Regions from separate parts of the Homo sapiens genome. Here regions 2, 3, 4, 5 and 6 are each linked to region 1. The links are contacts of gene promoters, found by promoter capture Hi-C in human tissues and cell types (Jung and others, 2019). All regions are on one chromosome and are shown on one strand. The core of a region is centred on a gene start or on the middle of the fragment in contact, and the rest is flanking DNA. Distances in the headings are between cores, read along the strand shown.

Region 1 (2,531 bases), core at 22-2,521:
TCCCTCCCGCAGAAGGGGGTTTTAGGGGCCTGGGCTGGGGGGATGGGGAGGGCACATCGTGACTGTGTTTTTCATAACTTATGTTTTTATATGGTTGCATTTACGCCAATAAATCCTCAGCTGGGGTCTGGCTTTGTTTCCTGGGGGCAAAGGAGGTTTGGGGTTCCTTTCGCAGGTACTGCAGTGCCAGCCTCAGCAGTGGGGGGACCGGCCTTGGCACCTGCTGGTGGCTGCCATTCTGTGGATCTGCGTCTCCCGTCCCCCGTCTCTAGGCCTCTTGCTCCCCTTCCTTGGTTCCTTCTCGGGGTCCCTGTCCTCCACAGCTGTCTCTCAGGGTCTTTGTCCAACTCTTTTCATCCCTCTCCTGGGTCTGCGCCCCTCCCCTCTGCGGTACCCGTGTCCTGCCTAGTAGGGGATGGGGGTGGCTTTCCAGCACAGCCAGCCCTCAAGTTTCCCAGAACAGTCTCCCCACCTCCCCCCAACACTCGACATTGTTCCTCTCTGGCTGTTTTTTCCTGTTCGGGTCCCTTCAAGGCCCAACTGTGCCCAGCCCTCTGCAGCTGGGGACACTGAGTGGGTTGGGGGTGTATGTTTGCAAGGATAGAATTTCTCATGGGGGAGTGGCCCTGCTTCCTCCCCTAGAATGGCTTGGGGCTTAGGGCTGGGGACTTGCCCTCCATGGAGGTCAGTGGGAGTTGCAGCTGTAAGGTGGCAGGGCCTACCCATCTTACAGAGGTGAAGACGAGGTCCCTCTGCCTCTGCTGCAGACATGGCGTCTGCACCCACCCTTCCACCCTCAGGGCCTGGCCACGGGGTCCTGGGTCCCCCACAATACTGTGCACTCGACCTGGTTGACCCAGGACACCCTCCTCGTTGAACAGCCCTGGCTACACCTGCTTCAGTGCAACTGGAGCCCTCACCGGCGAGTGCCTGACACCTCGGCCTTTTCTCTTCCGGAGGGGCGCTCCTCAGTGTGTTTGGGGTCTCCCTCGCTCCACGCCCTCCAGGGGGCCGCATGTGCACTTGCCCTGCATTGCCTGGCCCCCGAGGTTCCAGGGTCCCAACTGTCTACTAACCGGCTTCCCGACAGGGTGAGGGTGAGGTCGCATCTACAACCAGAGCCAGCGCTTCCCCGCCGCCACCCCTTTTCTTGGAATCCCGCTGCTTAGCTACCTGCGGGTGTCATTGGCCCCGCCCCATTTCCCCACGCTTTGAAGGGGGCGAGTCTCCACAGACCTCCTAGGGGGATAGACAGCAGCTGGTGTGACCCCACACACCCAGTGAGGTCTCTGGAGCCGCGGTGCGGGAAGCGGGGACCCGGGTTTGAATCCTGCCCCTCTGGTGTGGTGCGGCCTCTTCCCACAGACTTTTGGCCTCAGTGTTCCCCGCCTGGGAAGTGGGGACTGGCCCTGGTACCTGGCTCCAGAGCTGCACCCAGAGGCGATCAGCCCGGTGCGGGAACGGGGCGGGGTGGCCGCAACTACGGGCCACGGATCCTGACCCGCCCTGCCCACGATGACTATCCACATCCTCATCCTGCTGTTGCTCCTCGCCTTCTCCGCCCAAGGGGACCTGGACACTGCAGCCAGGTGAGAAACCCGGGTGGCAGCAGGGACAGGGCGGGAGGGAGACCGTAAAGGGCGAGCGCCCTCTCCCGGCCGCGGAACGGGCAGGTGATCTGTAAGCCTCCCCGCTGGTCTTGGAGTGCTTGGGTGCCCACCTCCATCACGCTCCATCTCTCAATTCGGTTTGAACCCGGTTTTCTCCCACGCTCCCTCTCCAGGCGAGGCCAGCACCAGGTCCCCCAGCACCGCGGGCACGTCTGCTACCTGGGCGTATGCCGGACCCACCGCCTGGCGGAGATCATATACTGGATTCGCTGTCTCCACCAAGGAGCCCTCGGGGAAGGCCAGCCACGAGCCCCAGGACCCCTACAGCTATGGGCGCCGCCGGTGGCGCGAGGCGGAAGCCCGGCTCGGTTCCCAGGATTCCGGCCTGCAGCGAGGGGGCTAGCGCAGTGCCCAGCTCGCTGGGTGACCTCGGGCACGGCTCGTCCCCTCCTCGGCTTCAGTTTGCCTATCTGTATGTTGGAGCTTCTACTCCACATTTCTTCTCCCCTAACTCCAGCCCCTGAAACCGTCTTCCCCAGTCCCTCCCCGGGCTGCGACTAGGTTGGACCTAGAAGCACACGGGACCAGGCTGGGCGAAGAACACTGACGCCCAGAGCCGAATAAACAAGAGTTCCGTGTTTCAGTCTCTGCTTCTCTGTACCTATTTCGACCTCTCAGTCGAGGCTGGGTCTCTAATATACCTTTCTCTATTAGCCATGCTGCTTCTCCCTCACGGAAGTCCCACTGTCTACCTTGAATCCAACCCGCTGTGGCGCCTTTCTTGCCAACTCAATCCATGCACCTTCCGTGGGTGGTTTTGGCGGGCCGTCCTGACCCCCAAACATCCCTCCTCCCTCCCTGGCGTGAAAGGGCTGAGATTTGCTCCGGCACCCTACGCGCCTGACGTTATAATGCACCTGG
Region 2 (2,531 bases), core at 20-2,519, 730 kb before region 1:
CAGGTGGATCACTTGAGGTCAGGAGCTTGAGACCAGCCTGACCAACATAGTGAAACCCCATCTTTACTAAAAATACAAAATTAGCTGGGCGTGGTGTCGCATGCCTGCAATTCCAGCTACTTGGGAGGCTGAGGCAGGAGAATTGCTTGAACCCGGAGGCAGAGGTTGCAGTAAGCCGAGATCGTGCCATTGCACTCCATCCTGGGCAACAAGAGCAAAACTCCGTCTCAAAATAATAATAATAATAATAATAATAATAATAATAATAATGTGTATACCCATGTAAACACCATTCAGATAAAAATATGGCATATTTGGGGCACCCGGGGAGTGTCTCTTGTGGCCCCTCCCCTCCATACCCTGCTGATCTATCAGCACAGATTAGTTTCTGCCACTTTTTAAACTTCATATTCCTTTTCTTTTTACACAAACACAAACATTCGAGTCATGACTGGGTGGGGTGGCTCAAGCCTGTAATCTCAGCACTTTGGGAGGCCAAGGTGCGAGGATCGCTTGAGTCTGGGAGTTCAGAGACCAGCCTGGGCAACATAGAGAGACCTCATCTCCACATAAAAAGTTTTAAAAATTAACCAGGGGCGGTGTAGTCCCAGCTACTCAGGAGGCTGAGGTGGGAGGCTTCAGCCCGGGAATTCCAGACTGCAGTGAGCCATGATTGGGCCACTGCACTCCAGCCTGGGCAACACAGTGAGACCCTGTCTCAAAAAAAAAAAAAAAAAAAACAGGAAAAAACAAACAAACAGAAAAGCAGGCCTGGCGCGGTAGCTCATGCCTGTAATCCCAGCGCTTTGGAAGGCTGAGACGGGGTTATCTCTTGGGCTCACAAGTTAGAGACAAGCCTGGGCGTGGGCTATATTGCTAGATCCAGGTCTCTGCAAAAAACAAAACCACTCAGTTTTTAGTCATCTATAACGTCCTGCCTGGAAGCATGCTATTTTGGGCCTCTGAGCTTTTGCACTTGCTAATTCCTTCTGCGCTGGGGAGAGCTCAAACCCTGCCCGAAACTTCTAAAAATGGTGCCTGGATAAATGAAGGCATTAGAGCTGCGATTGGACGGACGGCTGTTGGACGGCGCCACTGCTGGCACTTATCGGGAGATGCTCATTGGACAGTCACGTGACGGGACCAAACCTCCCGAGGGAGCGAGGCAGGTGCGGTCACGTGACCCGGCGGCGCTGCGGGGCAGCGGCCATTTTGCGGGGCGGCCACGTGAAGGACGCACGTTCAGCGGGGCTCTCACGTGACCCGGGCGCGCTGCGGCCGCCCGCGCGGACCCGGCGAGAGGCGGCGGCGGGAGCGGCGGTGATGGACGGGTCCGGGGAGCAGCCCAGAGGCGGGGGTGAGGCGGGAGGCAGACGGGCGGGAGGAGGGCGAGCCCCCTCGCCGGCCCGTCCGGGATCCTTCCTACCGGCCTGGGGCTGTGCGATCTCCAAGCACTGAGGGGCAGAAACTCCCGGATCGGGCGCTGCCAGCCTCCAGTCCCCTCCGTCCTCGGAGGTTCCTGGCTCTCTGATCCCCGTGTCCCGATCCCTGCCTCTCTGGCGCTCTCGGACCCTCGAGAACCAGGGGATCTCGGAAGCCAAGCCCCCGGGCAGGCCCGGGCTTGTCGCCCGCACCACTTCCTGCCTCTGGCACTGGTGGGAGGGGCGGGTCTCGCCTCTGCCCCCTCAGGCCAGGGGTCTGGATGCATATAGCGTTCCCCTAGCCTCTTTCCCCGGGGAGAATGTAGGATACAGGCCCAGCCTCCTGGCCTTTCTCCATCAGGGACTCAGTTGTCTGGGCCCCCCCGTCACTTTATCTGCTAGGGTCCCAGAAGTCCAGGGTCCCCAGCTCTGTCCTCCCTCAGGGGCCGTGAGTCTCCACAGTCTCCTGATCCCCTAGAACCCAAGAGTCCAGGTACCTCTTCCCTTCCTTTCTCCTCTAGGGCCCACCAGCTCTGAGCAGATCATGAAGACAGGGGCCCTTTTGCTTCAGGGGTGAGTTTGAGGTCTGATTATTGTGGCACAGATTTGAGGAGTGACACCCCGTTCTGATTCTGCACCCTCACTCCATCCCCACTCTAGTTTCATCCAGGATCGAGCAGGGCGAATGGGGGGGGAGGCACCCGAGCTGGCCCTGGACCCGGTGCCTCAGGATGCGTCCACCAAGAAGCTGAGCGAGTGTCTCAAGCGCATCGGGGACGAACTGGACAGTAACATGGAGCTGCAGAGGTGTGGGCCCCTGAGGACCCAGAAGTCCAGCCACTGGGCTCCTTCAGGACACAGGACTCTCAGCCCCGCATTCTCCTCCTCCCCTAAGAACTAGGAGTCTGGGCCCCACAACTCAGCGCAAACATTCCGGACTCCCAGCCCTCCTCTCTGCCAGGATCTTAAAACCCTCCTTCAGGGAGTCATTTTTCCCACCTTCCTAAATGTCTGTCTTGTCCCCTTCCCTTGTCCCCCGTTGGCCTGTTGCTTTTCATTTCAGCCTGGCTTGGGGCTCAGTCTCCTTATCTTTAGTGTGCGGTGGATGCG
Region 3 (2,531 bases), core at 19-2,518, 700 kb before region 1:
GGTTCTCCCATTTGCAGGCAGATGTCTATAGACTTAAGCCTCAGCTCTCTTATCTTCTGTTTCCATATCTGCTGCTAATTTCTCACCTGCTGCCTTAGCCTTACTTCTCTATTTGCATGATTTATTCCTGCTACACATTTTTTCCATCTCTGTTGCAATATTTTCCGTGCCCCCTGCTTACTTTCTTTCTTTCTTTTTTTTGAGATGGAGTCTCACTCTGTGGCCCAGGCTGGAGTGCAGTGGTGCGATCTCAGCTCACTGCAACCTCTGTCTCCCGGGTTCAAGCAATTCTCCTGCCTCAGCCTCCCAAGTAGCTGGGATTACAGGCACCCGCTCCCACACCTGGCTAATTTTTTTTTTTTCTTGAGACGGAGTCTGGCTCTGTTGCCCAGGCTGGAGTGCCGTGGCATGATCTCGGCTCACTGCAACCTCTGCCTCCTGGGTTCACACCATTCTCCTGCCTCAGCCTCCCGAGTAGCTGGGACTACAGCGGCCCGCCACCACGCCCGGCTACTTTTTTTTGTATTTTCAGTAGAGACGAGGTTTCACTGTGTTAGCCAGGATGATCTCCATTTCCCGACCTTGTGATCCGCCCGCCTCGGCGTCCCAAAGTGCTGGGATTACAGGCGTGAGCCACCGCACCCAGCCTCCTGTTTAATTCCTGTAACTGCTACCCTTCTCCCACTCGCTGCCTCCTTTCTCTGCTTATAACCACATATGTCACATGTCCTGTGTCTATGCCCCCACTGCCCTGTCTGGCCACTCTGCAAATCATTTCCCCTACCTGCTGCCTTGTTTCTGTACTTGCTGCCACATTTCTCTTACCAACCATCTGCATCTCCCACTGTCTTTTCTTTCTGATGCTAATTCCTTCCACGGGATGCTTCTTTTTTGTTTTCAGACAGGGTCTCGCTCTGTTGCCCAGGCTGGAGTGCAGTGGTGTGAACATGGTTCACTATAGCCTCAACCTCCCTGGCTCAGTCAATCCTCCCACCTCACCTCCTACAGGCGTGGGCCACCATGCCAGGCTGATTTTTTAATTTTTTGTGGAGATGGGGTCTCACTATGTTGCCCAGGCTGATCGTGAACTCCTGCGTTCAAGCAGTTTTCTTGCTTAGCCTCCCAAAGTGTTGAGATTAGAAGTGTGAGCCACCTAAAGCAGGCCCTTTTTTATTTTCAGAGACGGGGTCTTGCTCTGTCCTCCAGCCTGGAAGGGAGTGGTGCAATTACGGTTCACTGAAGCTTCGATCTCCCAGGCTCAAGCAATCCTTCCACCGCAGCTTCCCACGTAGCTGGGACCACAGGCACAAGGTATCACATCCCGGCTAATTTTTAACTTTTTTGTAAGGACAGGGTTTCACCATGTTGCCCAGGCTGGTCTCAAACTCCTGGCCTCAGCCTACCAAAGTGCTGGGATTACAGGCGTGAGCTACTGCACCCAGCCTGTAATGATTCTCTTACTGTTCATGCTGCCACTTTTCTTCCCCATGATGCCTTGTTTCTGTTCCTTTCATCACATATCTGTCACCTGCGACCTCTTTCCTCTATCCATAGGCCCATTTTGTAGTCCACAGCCTCCTTCCTTCCTTCCTTGCTTCCTTCCTTCCTTCCTTCCCTCTCTCCCTCCTTCCCTCCCTCTCTCCTTTTTCTTTCTTTCTTCCATTTTTTTTTGTTTGTTTTTGTTTTTGACAGGGTCTCACTCCGGTCACCCAGGCTGGAGTGCAGTGGTGCAATCATGGCTCACTGGGCTGGGCGCGGTGGCTCACGCCTGTAATCCTAGCTCTTTGGGGGGCCGAGGCGGGCGGATTGCCTGAGCTCAGGAGTTTGAGACCAGCCTGGGCAACATGGTGAAACCCTGTCTCTACTAAAATACAAAAAATTAGCCGGGCGTGGCAGCATGTGCCTGAGGTCCCAGCTACTTGGGAGGCCGAGGCAGGAGAATTGCTTGAACGCGGGAGGCGGAGGTTGCAGTGAGTCGAGATTGTACCACTGCACTCCAGACTCAGCGACAGAGTGAGATTCTATCTGAAAAAAAAAAAAAAAAAATTATGGCTCACTACAGCCTCCACATCCCATCCTCCCACCTCAGCCTCCTGAGTAACTGGGATCACGAGCACGCACCATCATGCCTGGCTAATTTTTTGTATTTTTAGTAGAGACAGAGTTTCGCCATGTTGCCCAGGTGGGTCAGGAACTCCTGGGCTCAAGCTATCCTCTCACCTCGGCCTCCCAAAGTGCTGGGATTCCAGGCATGAGCCACCGCCCTCGGCCACGCCACACATTTCTAACATAGCCCATCCTCTGTCCGTGCCCCAGGGCTGCATTTTTCTAGCCACTGCCGTGTTTCTAAGACTTGCTGTCTCACTTCTGCCTCTGCCACATTTCTCCAGTTGGCTGTTTTCCTCCCTGAGACCATGGCTTTGGTTCTGGGCCTGCTGCCACAGCAGTGGAGAAGCAGCCCCGCTCCTCGCCGACCTGGCTTTTTGCTGCCTGGAGCCTCGCTCTGAGGTCCCTCCCCCTCCCAGCTGTTG
Region 4 (2,531 bases), core at 16-2,515, 680 kb before region 1:
GACACGCCATTCACAGCCATCGCCGGCAGTGAAATCTTCTCCCTGGAGATGAGCAAGACCGAGGCGCTGACGCAGGCCTTCCGGCGGTCCATCGGCGTTCGCATCAAGTAAGCGGGGGACCCGAGGCGGGTGCCAGACCCCAGAGCCTGGGAGCAACCCCGCACCCCGGGCGGCTCGTCCTTTGTCCCAGAGCTCATGGAAGGTTGTGATTCCCGAGGGTCCAGGTGTCAGGCTGTCTCCTCAGATCTGCTCTCTGGCTAGGGAGGAGACGGAGATCATCGAAGGGGAGGTGGTGGAGATCCAGATTGATCGACCAGCAACAGGGACGGTGAGTCTGTGTGAGTCTGTACCCTGCTGAGGCCACCTCCAGCGCCAGGGTTGGAGAGAGTAGATATCAGGTCTGCACTGAGGTCAGAATCCCATGGAATGTTCTAGCTGCAGACTAGAGCCATGTACATGCCTACAGTAGGAGGTCAGTTAACTTGACAATGGCTTATCCCCTTATGAAGGACATTATGGGCAATAGAAACTGAGGCGGTAAAATAATGAGAGAGATCTGTTAGTGAGTTCCCAACAGACCTCAAAACCCAACAGACTTCAAAACTCGTTCCGTGGCCGAAAGGCATGTCCTGTCCATCTTACATGATACAGGTGATTTGCTCTCTCTTTTTTTTTTGTTTTCGAGACAGAGTCTCCCTCTGTCCCCCAGACTGGAATGCAGTGGTGCAATCTCGGCTCACTGCAACCTCTGCCTCCCAGGTTCAAGTGATTCTTCTGCCTCAGCCTTCCGAGTAGCTGAGATTACAGGTGTGTGCATGCCACCACGCCCGGCTAATTTTTGTACTTTCAGTAGAGACGGGGTTTCACCATGTTGGCCAGGCTGGTCTTGAACTCCTGACCTCGTGATCTGCCCACCTTGGCCTCCCAAAGTGCTGGGATTACAGCCGTGAGCCACCATACCTGGCCTCTTTTTTTTTTTTTTTTTTTTTTTTTACAATTTCTGTTTTCTCCTTTTTGCATAGCTGTGTTTTCTGATTTTGTGATCAACAAAAACACTTTTTATTTGGGTATAAAATAGGAATGTCAAAGTGTGACATTTGGCAATTTTGCGAGACCTCGGGCCTATGTTGTTTTTGATAGACTTTATTTTTTAGGCATGTTGTTTGTTTACTATTTTTATTTTTTATTTTTATTTTATTTTATTATAATTTTTTTTTTGAGATGGAGTCTTGCTCTGTTGCCCAGGCTGGAGTGCAGTGGCACAATCTCAGCTCACGGCAAGCTCTGCCTCCCGGGTTCATGCCATTCTCCTGCCTCAGCCTCCCGAGTAGCTGGGACTACAGGCACCTGCCACCACGCCCGGCTAATTTTTTGTATTTTTAGTAGAGACGGGGTTTCACTGTGGTCTCGATCTCCTGACCTTGTGATCTGCCCGCCTCGGCCTCCCAAAGTGCTGGGATTACAGGTGTGAGCCACTGCACCCTGCCTGTTTACTATTTTTATTAAGAGCTTTATTGAGTTTTGGCCAGGCGCAGTGGCTCACACCTGTAATCCCAGCACTTTGGGAGGCTGAGGTGGGCGATCACTTGAGATCAGGAGTTCGAAACGAGCCTGACTAACATGGTGAAACCCTGTCTATACTAAAAATACAAAATGGCTGGGCGCGGTGGTTCATGCCTATAATCCCAGCACTTTGGGAGGCCGAGGCGGGTGGATCACCTGAAGTCAGGAGTTCAAGACCAGCCTGACCAACATGGTGAAACCCTGTCTCTACTAAAAATACAAAAAATTAGCTGGGCGTGGTGGTGGGTGCTTGTAATCCCAGCTACTTGGGAGGCTAAGGCAGGAGAATCGCTTGAATCTGGGAGGCAGAAGTTGCAGTAAGCCGAGATCACACCATTGCACTCCAGCCTGGGCAACAAGAGCGAAACTCCATCTCAAAAATAAATAAATAATAAAAACACAAAACAATTAGCTGGGTATGGTGGCACACATCTGTAATCCCAGCTACTTGGGAGGCTGAGGCAGGAGAACTACTTGAACCCGGGAGATGGAGGTTGGAGTGAGCTGAGATCACACCACTGCACTCCAGCCTGGGCGACAGAGCAAGACTCTATCTCAAAAAAAAAAAAAAAAAAAAAAAAAAAAAAAAAAAAGAGCTTTATTCACCAGGCGCAGTAGCTCACTCCTGTAATCCCAGCACTTTGGGAGGCCGAGGTGGGCAGATCACAAGGTCAGGAGATCGAGACCATCCTGGCTATCACAGTGAAACCCCATCTCTACTAAAAATACAAAAATTAGCCATGCGTGGTGGCGGGCGCCTGTAGTCCCAGCTACTCGGGAGGCTGAGGCAGGAGAATGGCGTGAACCCGGGAGGCAGAGCTTGCAGTGAGCCGAGATCATGCTACTACACTCCAGCGTGGGCGACAGAGCAAGACTCCGTCTCAAAAAAAAAAAGAACTTTATTGAGTTTTAATTGACATACAGAAAGCTGTACACATTGCAAGTGTCCAGTATGGTCCGTTGGGACA
Region 5 (2,531 bases), core at 16-2,515, 660 kb after region 1:
TAAAACAGCTTGCAACTGTATGATTCAGTTGAGCATGTAGATGGGGGTCCAATATCCCTATGAGCCATCTTATGCCCAAGTGGCGGGCCCATAGTATTGTATAATTCTTTCAGGGGGCCATCATCATCTTTCCAGTTACCTATGGCTATGCTTCGTTTTTCACGGGAAGCATAGACAGGGAATCCTAAGAGTTTGTTGTTTTTATGGGCAGCAGGAAGAAAGATGGTTTAATAGTGCCAATTACACAGCTACCTGTCTACTGATCAGATAGCTTAGCATAAGCTCTATGTCCACATATCCAGTATAACCCAGTAGGGGCAGTCCAGTCCCAGTGGAATTCTGGGTGGGCCTAAACAGTCTGCAATTTTGGAAATTTACGGAATGGATTTTTTTCCGTGTAATTGGAACTCCACCATGTAACTGTTTTTGTGGTACCATTATACAGTTTTTGTCCAAGACAACTAACCTGTCCTACAGGATGAGTGAATTCTTTTCCTTCTCTAGCTATGCAACATTGTCCAATAATTGAGGCTTTTAGAACCCAGAAATTGTCAGGGTGGTTCTTTTGGGCCGAGAATTCATCAGGAACTGGGTCTGTAGGAACTCATTCTCGGGCTTCCCATGGCCACTGATCTCCTGTTACAGTTGCTCCACAAACAAAACACGAAGTGACTTTTAGAGACTGGGCTACATGCTCGGCTAACTGCAAAAACAAATGTCTAGTTTTTCCTGGAATTTCAGGCACTGGCACATTTTGTTCATCATAGAAAGTGTGAAATACTGGCTCTGGAGAGCATGTTCGAACCTCTCCTTTTATTAAAATGTTTACCCTAGGGTCTAGTCTTTTTCCATCAATGCCTAGAGATAAGTATTTTCCTTTTTTCTATTTTGGGTCTGAGGGGCTTGTGATTACTAATTTTAAAGGGTTGCAGCTTCCACTCATGCAGGACAGGCTTCCTTTCCCTTTTTGGAGCAAAACAGGATCTTTTTCATTTTTTTTTTCCCAAGTAGCCTAAATGACACAAGACCAGTACCCACATTCTTTTCCACACAATCCTGATTCATGACAGATGTACTTATTTTCGGTCATGTAGTTTTTTCCTAATTAAAAGAGCCACATCCTGCTCCTAACTTATTGCTATTAATGACAGCACAGCGTCAAATCTTAAGATTATGCATTTGGGCACCCCTTTTTCTTCTGTTCTGGCTAATACTTTACTTGTATCATTTATGAGTCCCTGCCAGTGTTCAGTCCTTAATCTTATTTCAAAAACTGTGGAAATGGGAGGTTCAGAGGGGTCATAGCACACATCGGGCTGGTCACTTCCTGGATCACAGACTTTGTACTGAGTGTTATTATACAAACATGTTCCTTTTGGAATTCCTAGGCCTTCATAATAACTATAGAACAAAAAGATTGTCTTAACTTGTTGTCCTACCTCAGTGACCTGAGGTATGCACTGAAAGCAGTCCTCTGTGTGGGAAGAAGCAGTGGAAGCTTTTACCACACAAGTCCGTGTTATAAGGAAAGTAAGTCCCACGACGATTTTCCTCATGCTTCGGCCGCGAATAGGCCAGTCAGCTTCCGGGTGTGACTGGAGCAGGGCTTGTCGTCCTCCTCAGGGTTACTTTGCAGGGATTGTCTAGGCCTGGTTTGGCCTCCCAGGTTCCAGTGGCTGCAGGCTTTCCGCAGCTGTGGTGAATCCCGGCCGGAATTCCTTCTACCTTCACAGCCGTGGGAGTGGTCAGGATAACGGTCTGGGGTCCCTTCCACTATGGCCCTAAGGGAGCTACGTTCCAGTCCTTGATCCACACGCGGTCACCTGGAGAAAAAGGGTGAACTGGGGAGAATAAGCTGACCGGGCACCTCATTTACCCAAGTTGAGATTGTCTCGGTAATTTTCCCCAAGGCCTGTAGCTGTCGCTGCAATTCAATTTCACCCAACTCTTGGGGAGTACCCAGAAGCCCTCGCGGCATAGGAGGAGGCCTATGATATAATATTTCATAAGGGGAGTGTCCTGTTTTCTTAGAGGGGGTGCACCTGTTTTAAACAATACCATAGGAAGGGCCTGTATCCATTTTAATCTTGTCTCTTGACATACTTTCCTTAAACTATTTTTGATAGTCCGACTCATTCGCTCCACCTTCCCAGAACTCTGAGGTCGGCAGGCAGCATGTAGACTTGTTTGTACCTGTCCTTCTTGGGAAGGCTTTCCAGGTATTCAAAAGGACTTGAGGATTGTGATCTAAGCCATATCTGTATCAGGGGGCCTCCCAAGCCTATTAATGCTGTGGTTTTTGTTTGTTTTGTTTTTTTGAGACAGAGTCTCACTCTGTCACCCAGGCTGGAGTGCAGTGTCATGATCTCAGCTCACGGCAACCTCTGCCTCTCAGGTTCAAGCGATTCTCATGCCTCAGCCTCCCAAGCAGCTGGGATTACAGCTGTGTGCCACCACGCCTGGCTAATCTTTGTGATTTTAGCAGAGACTAGGTTTCATCATGTTGGCCAGGCTGGTCTCAAACTCTGGGC
Region 6 (2,531 bases), core at 15-2,514, 540 kb before region 1:
CCCTATGACGGTGACTGGTGCCTGACACTCACCAGAAGTACATAAATGTTTTTATCCTTGTATGGATTCCTAACTCGTGAGGTTGTTGGGAGCAGAAGCTCAATAAATGTGAACCCCCCCCGCCATACTCCCTAAACATTTGCACCATGGCTGTGTCTGTCCCCCACTTCTGAATCCTCATTCTGTACCTCTGTGTGAGGTCAGCGAGGTGACGTCATTTGCACAGGGCCACACAGCAAAATGCATGGCAGGGTCCCAATTCCAACCTGAATTTGTTCAACTCCAAAGTCACATTGCCTGGTACATGGCAGGTGCCCTATAATAAGAATCATTCCTTTTCTCTGTTACTGCTTGCCCCAGAAAGCAGGAGGGACATAAACGTGTGGCCCAGGGCCTTCAGGAGGACACCCTCCTTCCTCTCCCCCACGCGAAGCCCTCTCCCACCATCCATTAACACTCCCTGCCCCTCAGTCCACAGGAAACGTGTGGATGACACACGAGGAGATGGAGTCCCTTACGGCCACGACCAAGCCCGTGAGTGCCCCCTGCCGGCCGCCTTGGGGGTGGCACTAACCTTCTTTGGGGGTGGGGGCGGGGACCGAGTCTGTGGCCATCCCTAAGTCCGCTCCTTGCGTCCTCCTCTGCCTGCCCCTTAACTCACCCCTTCTCTCCCCTCTTCCTACTAACGGGTCAGGAGACCAAGGAGATCAGCTGGGAGCAGGTAGGGGGCGCGGGGCGGGGCGTGAGCGCATGAACAGGCTGTGCACGACGCATGGATGCCCCTCCTCCGAGCCCTGCCCCTGCCTTCACCAGAACATGCCATCATCCCCATGGGGGGGCGCTGCGCCAAGCTTGGCTCTGGACTGTTCCATTATGGCTTGGCGGTGGGGAGGGTAGAGGGGATGCGATGTGGAAGCCCAGACTGTTGCATAGTCAGCCTTATGCATGGACCATTTCATCATCGTGGGTTGTGGGGGCTCTAAGGGGCTTCAATTCTGTAGCTCAGGAGAGACTGAGCAGCCGGTGTCCCTATAGTGGAGGGGGCGGGGGCTACAGTGGACTGCTCAGTGTACCAGGGCCAAGGAGGACACACTGGCTGTGGTGGTGGTGAGGCAGCCAGGCTGAATGAGAAGTTGGGGAGGAGGAGCTACACTTTGTTCTCAAGAAACAAGAGGCGGCCGGGCGCAGTGGCTCACGCCTGTAATTCCAGCACTTTAGGAGGCTGAGGTGGGCAGATCACCTGAGGTCAGGAGTTTGAGACCAGTCTGGCCAACATGGTGAAACCCTGTGTCTACTAAAAATACAAAAATTAGCCGGGTGCAGTGGCTAGCGTATGTAATCCCAGCTACTTGGGAGGCTGAGGCAGGAGAATCGCTTGAACCCAGGAGGTAGAGGTTGCACTGAGCCGAGATTGCACCATTGTACTCCAGCCTGGGTGATAGAGCCAGATTCCATCTCATAAAAACCAAACAAATAAACTAACAAAAAAACCCAAGAGGCATGAACTCACTGTCCACGGAGGAATTATGTTTGACTGTGGTCATAGATCACATATTTCCAGCCAGGGGGAGGCGTGGATTTTGTGCTGATGCTGAAAGGAGTGAGGGACTTGGGACTCATCTGGAATATTGTCCTGGGCCAGATATAACATTAGACAAGTATTTTCAGGACATTGCAAGAGTGATGGCCCTTTCTTAGTGGGAGAGCTGCCTTGAAAGAGTCCATTGTCCTGACTTGGGGGTTTAGTGACGTTGGACTGCAGTGAGACAGAGTTAAAGCAGTGCTTCCCCAAATTTAATGTGTAGTGGGGTGGCACACACCTGTAGTCTCAGCTACTTGGAAGACTGAGGCAGGAGGACCGCTTGAGCCCACGAAGCTGAGGTCAACCTGGGCAACATAGTAAGACCCTGTCTCTAAAAAATAAACAAATACAGCCAGGCGCGGTGGCTCATGCCTGTAATCCCAGCACGTTGGGAGGCTGAGGTGGGCGGATCCCTTGAGGTCAGGAGTTTGAGACCAGCCTGGCCAACATGGTGAAACGCCGTCTCTACTAAAAAATACAAAAATTAGCCGGGCGTGGTGGCTCGTACCTGTAATCCCAGCTACTCGAAGGCTGAGGCAAGAGAATTGCTTGAACCTGGGATGGGGAGGTTGCAGTGAGACGAGATCGTGCCACCGCGCTCCAGCCTGGGTGACATAGCAGACTCTTTCAGAAAGAGAGAGAGAGAGAGAGAGAGAGAAAGAGAGAAAGAAAGAAATTTAAAAATAAATATAATGTATATTTCGAATCACCTGAGGGTCTTGTGAAAATGCCGATACCGACTTCAGTAGGTCTGGAGTAAGGTCTGAGATTCTGCAATTCCAGCAAGTCCACAGGTGATGGTGACGCTCTAGGTCTCAGGACAACTGTTTGAGTAGCCAAGAGTATATGCTGTCATGAAGGGCTAGGAGACAACTCTGGATTGGTCCATTATCCTGAGCAGAGATTGGTCATTGTCCTACCATGGGGTGGGAAAAAACCTTGGATTGGG

Evidence for each region. The method cuts DNA at HindIII sites, captures the fragments that hold promoters and counts their contacts. A contact is called where the count stands out against the background at its distance.
Region 2: the fragment with the promoter of BAX here is called in contact with the fragment with the promoter of ADM5 in region 1 in 1 of the 25 tissues and cell types used here (spleen).
Region 3: a contact is called between a fragment that was not itself captured here and the fragment with the promoter of ADM5 in region 1, in 1 of the 25 tissues and cell types used here (dorsolateral prefrontal cortex).
Region 4: a contact is called between a fragment that was not itself captured here and the fragment with the promoter of ADM5 in region 1, in 1 of the 25 tissues and cell types used here (dorsolateral prefrontal cortex).
Region 5: a contact is called between a fragment that was not itself captured here and the fragment with the promoter of ADM5 in region 1, in 1 of the 25 tissues and cell types used here (bladder).
Region 6: a contact is called between a fragment that was not itself captured here and the fragment with the promoter of ADM5 in region 1, in 1 of the 25 tissues and cell types used here (pancreas).

Annotation. Positions count from the first base shown.
Region 1 is chr19:49,688,323-49,690,853 of GRCh38, forward strand. It overlaps ADM5 (adrenomedullin 5 (putative)), which reads left to right and starts at 1,272. Exons shown (of 2, transcript NM_001101340.2): 1 at 1,272-1,589; 2 at 1,784-2,253. The coding sequence starts at 1,516. The coding sequence ends at 2,171. It overlaps PRMT1 (protein arginine methyltransferase 1), which reads left to right. Exons shown (of 11, transcript NM_001536.6): 11 at 1-125. It also overlaps a transcript of CPT1C not described here. RefSeq lists an enhancer at 1-353 and a silencer at 1,662-1,731. The HindIII fragment of the contact is 11,781 bases long and covers 1-2,531 here.
Region 2 is chr19:48,953,606-48,956,136 of GRCh38, forward strand. BAX (BCL2 associated X, apoptosis regulator) reads left to right here and starts at 1,270. Exons shown (of 6, transcript NM_138761.4): 1 at 1,270-1,357; 2 at 1,943-1,994; 3 at 2,082-2,228. The coding sequence starts at 1,324. RefSeq lists enhancers at 949-1,517, 1,518-2,085, 1,535-1,744 and a silencer at 1,265-1,414. The HindIII fragment of the contact is 13,021 bases long and covers 1-2,531 here.
Region 3 is chr19:48,987,454-48,989,984 of GRCh38, forward strand. The region is part of intron 2 of GYS1 (glycogen synthase 1); the gene reads right to left. Among named protein-coding and RNA genes, the nearest start is that of GYS1, 4.6 kb to the right of the region's middle. RefSeq lists a silencer at 999-1,181 and an enhancer at 2,312-2,531. The HindIII fragment of the contact is 7,422 bases long and covers 1-2,531 here.
Region 4 is chr19:49,007,041-49,009,571 of GRCh38, forward strand. RUVBL2 (RuvB like AAA ATPase 2) reads left to right here. Exons shown (of 15, transcript NM_006666.3): 5 at 1-107; 6 at 262-328. Among named protein-coding and RNA genes, the nearest start is that of MIR6798, 1.6 kb to the right of the region's middle. RefSeq lists an enhancer at 2,400-2,531. The HindIII fragment of the contact is 7,286 bases long and covers 1-2,531 here.
Region 5 is chr19:50,348,013-50,350,543 of GRCh38, forward strand. The region is part of intron 2 of LOC105372437 (a long non-coding RNA gene); the gene reads left to right. Among named protein-coding and RNA genes, the nearest start is that of NAPSA, 16 kb to the right of the region's middle. The HindIII fragment of the contact is 3,847 bases long and covers 1-2,531 here.
Region 6 is chr19:49,145,472-49,148,002 of GRCh38, forward strand. It overlaps PPFIA3 (PPFI scaffold protein A3), which reads left to right. Exons shown (of 30, transcript NM_003660.4): 22 at 472-534; 23 at 695-721. Among named protein-coding and RNA genes, the nearest start is that of HRC, 8.7 kb to the right of the region's middle. The HindIII fragment of the contact is 3,877 bases long and covers 1-2,531 here.